Regions from separate parts of the Homo sapiens genome. Here region 2 is linked to region 1. Evidence: promoter capture Hi-C in human tissues and cell types (Jung and others, 2019). All regions are on one chromosome and are shown on one strand. The core of a region is centred on a gene start or on the middle of the fragment in contact, and the rest is flanking DNA. Distances in the headings are between cores, read along the strand shown. Region 1 holds the start of SGPL1 (sphingosine-1-phosphate lyase 1). Region 2 overlaps NPFFR1 (neuropeptide FF receptor 1).

The links. Contacts are between HindIII fragments. The study calls those that stand out against the background at their distance.
Region 2: a fragment that was not itself captured here is called in contact with the fragment with the promoter of SGPL1 in region 1 in 1 of the 25 tissues and cell types used here (spleen).

Annotation. Positions count from the first base shown.
Region 1 is chr10:70,814,184-70,817,834 of GRCh38, reverse strand. It overlaps SGPL1 (sphingosine-1-phosphate lyase 1), which reads right to left and starts at 1,887. Exons shown (of 15, transcript NM_003901.4): 1 at 1,709-1,887; 2 at 955-1,024. The coding sequence starts at 981. RefSeq lists silencers at 1,472-1,581, 1,662-1,751, 1,772-2,091. The HindIII fragment of the contact is 13,423 bases long and covers 1-3,651 here.
Region 2 is chr10:70,246,973-70,250,623 of GRCh38, reverse strand. It overlaps NPFFR1 (neuropeptide FF receptor 1), which reads left to right. Exons shown (of 4, transcript NM_022146.5): 4 at 1-3,295. Among named protein-coding and RNA genes, the nearest start is that of PPA1, 15 kb to the right of the region's middle. The HindIII fragment of the contact is 9,104 bases long and covers 1-3,651 here.

The DNA.
Region 1 (3,651 bases), core at 638-3,137:
ATTTGTTAAGCACATACTATATTCAGAGCACCATGCTAGGTGTTTATTCATCTCTAAACAAAGAAGACATGATTATCTGCCTGTCGAGGAACCATAACTCTAATCTGGAAGACAAACACTCAGATAAACTAGTATATGGCAGACCCTGATAAAACGTAATAATAGAGGTTTCAAAACTGCTCTGGTAGTACGGGAAGGGAGGGATTAAAACTGCAAGAATTATGAAAAAGAAAGCCAGGAGAGGTGACCTGTGCTCCTAGTCCTAGCTACTCCAGAGGCTGAAGCAAGAGGATCACTTGAAGTGGGAGTTCCAGGCTACAGTGAGCTATGATTATGCCTGTAAATAGCCACTGCACTCCGGTCTGAGGAACATAGCAAGACCTTGTCTCATTTAAAAAAAATAATAATAATTTTGAAAAAGATTCTTCAATAATTTAAGTTCTACATATACTGTATTGATGTATTTAATTCAGCTATTTATTCATCCTGATCATTCATCCAAAATAAAAGGTGGTTGGCCAGGCGCGGTGGCTCACGCCTGGAATCCCAGCACTTCGGGAGGCCAAGGCGGGTGGATCACCACAGGTCAGGAGTTCAAGGCCAGCCTGGCCAACATGGAGAACCCCGTCTCTACTAAAAATACAAAAATTAGCCGGGCGTGGTGGCGTGCGCCTGTAATCCCAGCTACTCAGGAGGCTGAGGCAGGAGAATCGCTTGAACCCAGGAGGCAGAGGTGGCGGTGAGCCGAGATCATGCCACTGCACCCCAGTCTGGGCAACAGAGTGAGACTCCGTCTCCAAAAAAACAAAACAAAACAAAACAAAATAAAAGGTGGCAAAACGCTCAGCTACCAAAAGCAAGCATCAGAGGTGAAATCTACACACTGGGATCCTTTGGACTAAAAAAACGGAGACAAATGCCTTGGAACCAGGAGGATGTCTGCAAAAGGCTCACCAACATCAGAAGGTCTGTGCTAGGCATCTTCCTCTTCCAGCCTCCTCTCCGCGCTCCCCTTTTTCAGACTCTGTAAAAGGGAACCAGGTTTGTTTACTTCTAGAGCTTTAAACTGTCTCGCCAGCCCGCCTAGATTCGCCAGAGCAGCCAAGTTATGGTTCTCTCCCTCCTTTGAAGGCTCAGATTTCATTCCCAGATATCACAGTCCACCCCTAGCACCCCAGACCAGCGAATCAAAATCCTGCTGCAACTAGGTTTCCCTCCCACAGCTGATGAAACTAATCCAGACCCAGACTCCCACAAAGCATTCCACCCAGGTGGAAACTAGGGGAAACGCCCCGTCTGCGCGCGATCGGGGTGGGGAGCCCAGCCCAGGCCACCTAACCCGGGCTGAAGGTGCCGAGGCTACCAGGGTCCTGCCTCCTCCGCACTCCCTTCAGAATCAGCACGGCCTCGCTCTCGTTGTCACCCCTCCCGTCGGAGGACCAGCAAATCCTGGCCGCCCATGCCTACCCCGCGGCAGGCGTGGGCTCCAGACCCGCCCCACCGCGGCCCCGCGCCCGCCCGCCGTCCACTTGCTTGGACCTCAGCGGCTGGTGCCCACGCCTTCAGCCCGCCCCCGCCCCCGCCCCGGCCGCAGCCGCCCCGCCGCCTCTGCCCGCCCTCGGCCCACCCGGCCCCTGTCCTCTCCTCACCCCGCGGCGCCTCCGTCCCGACCCTCACCGCCCCCCGGAGCCCGCGGCGGCCCCTCCACCTCCTCACGCCGGAACCAGCTTCCAGTCTCCTTCCCTCGAGCACCCGGCCGGCTCCACCTCCTGCGTCTCCCTCAGCACGCGACGGACTCGCAGGCCGCGAGACCCAGGCTCCCCTGTTGCCGCCGCCGCCGCCGAGATTGGAGGCCCGGCAGCCGCCGGCCTCGCCCCTCCCGGAAATGGCTCCGGGGGCACCGGCCCGGCTCCCGGACCCTGGCGTGCGCGGCCCCGCTGCTACCAGCCGCGCGCACGCCCAGACCCGGGCCCCACGGCCTGTGCGCGCCGCCTACCGGCCAGGCAGCGGGCTGCACCCAGACCCTCCAGTGAATGTCTCAACCAGGCCGTCCTGGGGCGGCTGTGGTATCCCGACGGTCACCAACTTCTCTTCCAAACTGCCTTGGACAAAAAACTTTCTTGTCACATTTGGTCACTTGGAGCCTCCTGAGAGAGTAGGTCTGCAGGGCATTGTACAAACTAATCCAAAACAGCCACAGAGTTGGGTCTCTTTCCTGGGCCAGGGACTTCATTTTTCCATCGAGGTCAGTGGTGCCTGAAGAAAAGCAACAAGGAAACTTATTTAATGGAAATATCATCCTCATCCTCCCCTCCACCACTGCCCCCCCCCACCCCAAAAATAAAATGGAGAGCAGAGGCTACTCTGCCATCACTACTTTCATGAGCAGTGCTGGGAATCACCTTATACACAAGTGCAAGGGCCCACTGGGATCACAAAGGTCGCCTTCATTTCCAGATGAAAAAACTAAGTCTCAGCTGGGTGTAGTGGCTTACATCGGTAATCCCGGCACTTGGGGATGCTGAGGCGGGAGGGTTGTCTGAGCCCAGGAGCTCTAGATCAGCCTGAGCAACATAGTGAGACCCCCAACTCCAAAAAGAAAAAGAAAAAACTAAGTCTCACATAGGTTTCCCATGACTTGTCCAGGTTGTCATAACATTGCTTTAGTGGTAGCAGAAGGCAGTGCAGTTACATGGAACCAACTGGTCAGTGACCTGCATTCAAGATTTTTTTTCAATAGATTTTAAAATGACACCTAGATAGACTCTTGAAATCTCTCAAACAAAAATGACACTAATGAGGGTACCCAATTCCATCCCCTTGGAAAATGTTGCCATGACACTAAAATTAGGGCATCATCACTACCGTCATTATCCACATGTAGTGCTTTCAGGATGAAATGTACTATCACAGCTGCCCTCCTCTGCATACCCCATCGGCACTTCCCACTTCCCCAGCCATAATGGTTAAGGCCCTGAAAGACTATGAACAGGTTATCTTTAGGCCTCCTCACCCCCATTCCGTCAGAACTCCCAGACATTTCTACCATCCAGAGCCCCTGACTCAGGCATGAACACCCCCATACCCTTAGCCCCCTCACTACTATTCCCCAGCAGACATGCATTCTCAGTGTTTGAGGGTCAGAAAATGTTCTGGGGCCTCCTGCCAATGCCTACTCATCAAGAGTTGCTTTAGGGTTTCAGGTATGCCTTCCCATTCTCCATCTCCTACCCTTCTGCTTTAATTCTTCATCAGATCCCCCAGGAACTGCACACCTCCTCTCCATCTCCTTGTTAGTTACCACCCCCACATCCTTTAATCTAGAATCTGTGCACCCAGATGACTAGAGGGCAGGGTCACGTCTGATTCCTCCCTACACCCTAACACACAGTATGCAGTCTGCTCATTCTTCCCAGATGCTCAAACCAATGCAATCATATCGACTGATCCTTGCTTTGCCAAGAACTATGCTAGGCACCTTTACATACAAGCCTTATTTATGGCCTGACTTGCCCAGATCAGGTGACTCTTATCATCCCTCAACCTGTAAACAAGGACACCAAGACCAAAGAAGGAAATGATCCTCCCAAAGACACACAGGCAGGATGGGGTGGAGTTTGTGTGGGAGTTTGGAGGGGAAGCCAAGGGTTC
Region 2 (3,651 bases), core at 699-3,198, 570 kb after region 1:
AAATGATGTTTGCAAGATTCATTCATGCTGTAGCATGTATCAGTAGTTTTTCCTTTTGATTGCTGAGTACTATTCCACTGTATGAATAGATCACATTTTGTTTATCCATTCATCAGTTGATAGACATTTGGTTGTCACCAGTTTTTGGCTATTATTAATAATGTTGCCATTAACATTCATGTACAAGTCCTTATATGTATGTGTATGTATGTTTTCCATTTTTCTTGGGTAGATACCTAGGATCGAGATTGGTAGGTTGCATGGTCTGTGTAAAATTTAACTGTATAAGAAACTGCCAAAGTGCTTTCCAAAGTCGCTCTACCATTTTGTACTCCCATCAGCAGTGTATGAATGTTCCAGTTGTTCTACATCCTGGCCAACACTTAGCAGTATTAGCCTTTTGAAAATTTCCAGGCCAGGTGTGGTGGCTCACGTCTGTAATCCCAGCACTTTGGGAGGCTGAGGTGCGTAGATCACCTGAGGTCAGGAGTTCAAGACCAGCCTGGCCAATATGGGGAAACCCCATCTCTACTAAAAACACAAAAATTAGCCAGGCATGGTGGCACACACCTGTAGTCCCAGCTACTTGGGAGGCTGAGACACGAGAATCACTTGAACCTAGGAGGCAGAGGATGCAGTGAGCCAAAATTGCGCCACTGCACTCCAACCTGGGTGACAGAGCAAGACTGTCTCAAAAAAAAAAAAAAAAAGAAAGAAAGAAAGAAGAAAAGAAAATTTCCCTGATGACTAGTGATGCTGGGCATCTTTTTGTGTGCTTACTGCATTCTTATATCTTTTATTGTAAAGTATCTTCAAATCTTTCTTTTAAAAACATGATTTTGGCTGGGTGCGGTGGCTCACACCTGTAATCCCAGCACTTTGGGAGGCCAAGGTGGGCAGATCACCTGAGGTCAGGAGTTCGAGACCAGCCTGGTCAACGTGATGAAACCCCATCTCTACCAAAAACACAAAAATTAGCCAGGTGTGGTGATGTGCGCCTGTAATCCCAGCTACTTGGGAGACTGAGGCAGGAGAATCACTTGAACCTGGGAGGCAGAGGTTTCAGTGAGCCAAGATGGCGCCACTGCACTCCAGCCTAGGTGACAGAGTGAGATTCCATCTCAAATAATAATAATAATAATAATATTTTATTGTAGAGACTTTAGCACAAAAACTTGCCCTAACTCTAAGGGATTTTTTTGTGAATATAATTTTTTTTTTTTTGAGACAGAGTCTTGCTTTTGTTGCCCAGGCTGGAGTGCAATGACGTGATTTTGGCTCACTGCAACCTTTGCCTCCTAGGTTCAAGCGATTCTCCTGCCTCAGCCTCCTGAGTAGCTGGGATTACAGGCATCTGCCACCACACCCAGCTAATTTTTGTATTTTTAATAGAGATGGGATTTTACCATGTTGGCCAGGCTGGTCTTGAACTCCTGACCTCAGATGATCTGCCCGCCTCGGCCTCCCAAAGTGCTGGGATTACAGGCGCGAGCCACCATGCTCCACCAATGATTTTTAAATCCATTAAGAATGGGTCTAAAGCAAGGTAAGAGGATATAGTGTGATAGAAGTAGGAGGGCTATTTGAACAGATGGTTAGGAATGGCCTCTGTGAAGAGGTGATGTTTGAGTACAGATATGAAGTGAGAGAGGGAGCCATGTGACTAGCTGGGGAAGAAACAAACCCAGACAGAGAGAGCATCATGTACACAGGTTCTAAGGGAGGAGTGGGATAACTGAAAAAGGAATTAGTAGATATCAAAATGCTATTGAATTTCAATAATTAAATTTCTGGTTAACTCAAAACATGTATTCAGTGTCTATTAAAAGCCAGGCATAGGCCAGGCATGGGGGCTCATGCCTGTAATCCCAGCACTTTGGGAGGCCGAGGTGGGTCGATCACTTGAGGTCAGGAGTTCGAGACCAGCCTGGCTAACATGGTGAAACCCCATCTCTATTAAAAATACAAAAATTAGCCAAGCATGATGGCAGGCACCTGTAATCCCAGCTACTTGGGAGGCTGAGGGAGGGGAATTGCTTGAACCTGGGAGGCGGAGTTTGCAGTAAGCCAAGATAGCGCCACTGTACTCTATCCTGGGCAACAGAGTGAGACTCCATCTCAAAAAAAAAAAAAAAAAACAAAAAACAAAAAAAAAACGCCAGGCATAGTACTACGTACTTTGTGTCTGTTATTTATTTCTCACAGTGGACCATAAGCTCCATGAGGACAGGAACTATGTCTATTTCACTTACCTTTGTGGATTCAGGTAGGATATTGCCTGGTGCATAGGAGGCACTCAATAAATGTCTGTTGAATGAATGAAGTAATTAACTAAGCAGGTATTTATTATTATTCCCATACAATAGATTGGAAAAGCAAGGCTCAGAGAAGTAAAGTAACTTACTGGAGGTTATATAACCAGGAGGTCCTGAAGGTGAGACTCAAACCTTAGTCTATCTGACCACAAAGTCCAGGTTTTTGCCATTCCCCAAGCTGCTGTGGTCTCTCCTTCCTACATCTGGGAAACTGAGGTTCAGAGTAAAAGAAAGAGCCTTGATGGAGGTCTCCCATAATCCTAAAAATAAAACCAGCCAGCCACAGGCTCCAGGCTGCTGTTTTGGCCATGAGACACATTTGCATCACTTTCAATGGCTTCCAAAGATTTGGGATAGAAGGAATACCAGCAGTTTAGGTAAAAGGTTTAAATTTAGTTTGACTCAATACCACATCAAGCCCTCAAAGCAGCCACGGGCTCCCCTGCACTGTGGTCACTGAAGGAGCAAAAGCTGCTGAACTGGCTGTAGCGTCCTGCCTTGAGTTGTTTGTGTTCTCCTGCTAGCTGCAATGCCCAGGTCTTTGAATCCTGTCACCAATAAATGATGCTGTTGTCATGTGCAAGCAACCAAATTAATGTGGGTGGAAAAACCCAAGCTTAGTGATTTGGGCAAATTAGTTTATCTGTCACATAGCCAGTGGTGGTGTTAAATCACTCTCTGTTTGAGGAGTAATCACTCTCCCCCCATCACCACCCTGTCTTCCTTTCGGTGTGGAAGTTAGAACAGCCAAGTCAATCCGTTTCAGTGACTGAGCGATCTACATTTCTGTGTTTTGACTGCCCCCCAGGAGGAGTATGTTGTGTAGTGCATTTTGTTTGTCCATAGTGCTGTCTCGTGGTCCTCCGAAGCCACCTCTAATGATCATAATTGCCTCTTTTATTCTTCTCTAGTCCGTGTCTTTGCAAAATGATTCTGTTACCTATGCTATAAATTATGGAAAATAAACTCATTATGAAAGAGTTGTTTACTTTTTACGCTCCATTGCATTAGTAGTTGTTCCCTTTTGCTTCCTCACTGTGAATGAAGTTTTCAGGCAAAATAGCGATCCTTTCCAAAAAGGTAGAGAGTAGGCTATGTGACCACTAACATAACTGCAGTATTTCCATTTTGCGGATGGGTAATTAAGTTGCATGGAGGCGAAGGCATATTACTGAGGGCCCCATAGCTCCTAAGTGTTGACAGCAAAACAACATTTTAGGCTTTGTGGATGGCAGACCAGTGTTCTTAACACAACACCAAATTACCTGTTTTGTTAACTCCACATTTATAAATATTTGTGACAGTTTAGGTGAAACTTAATTCTAGCATGTTAACA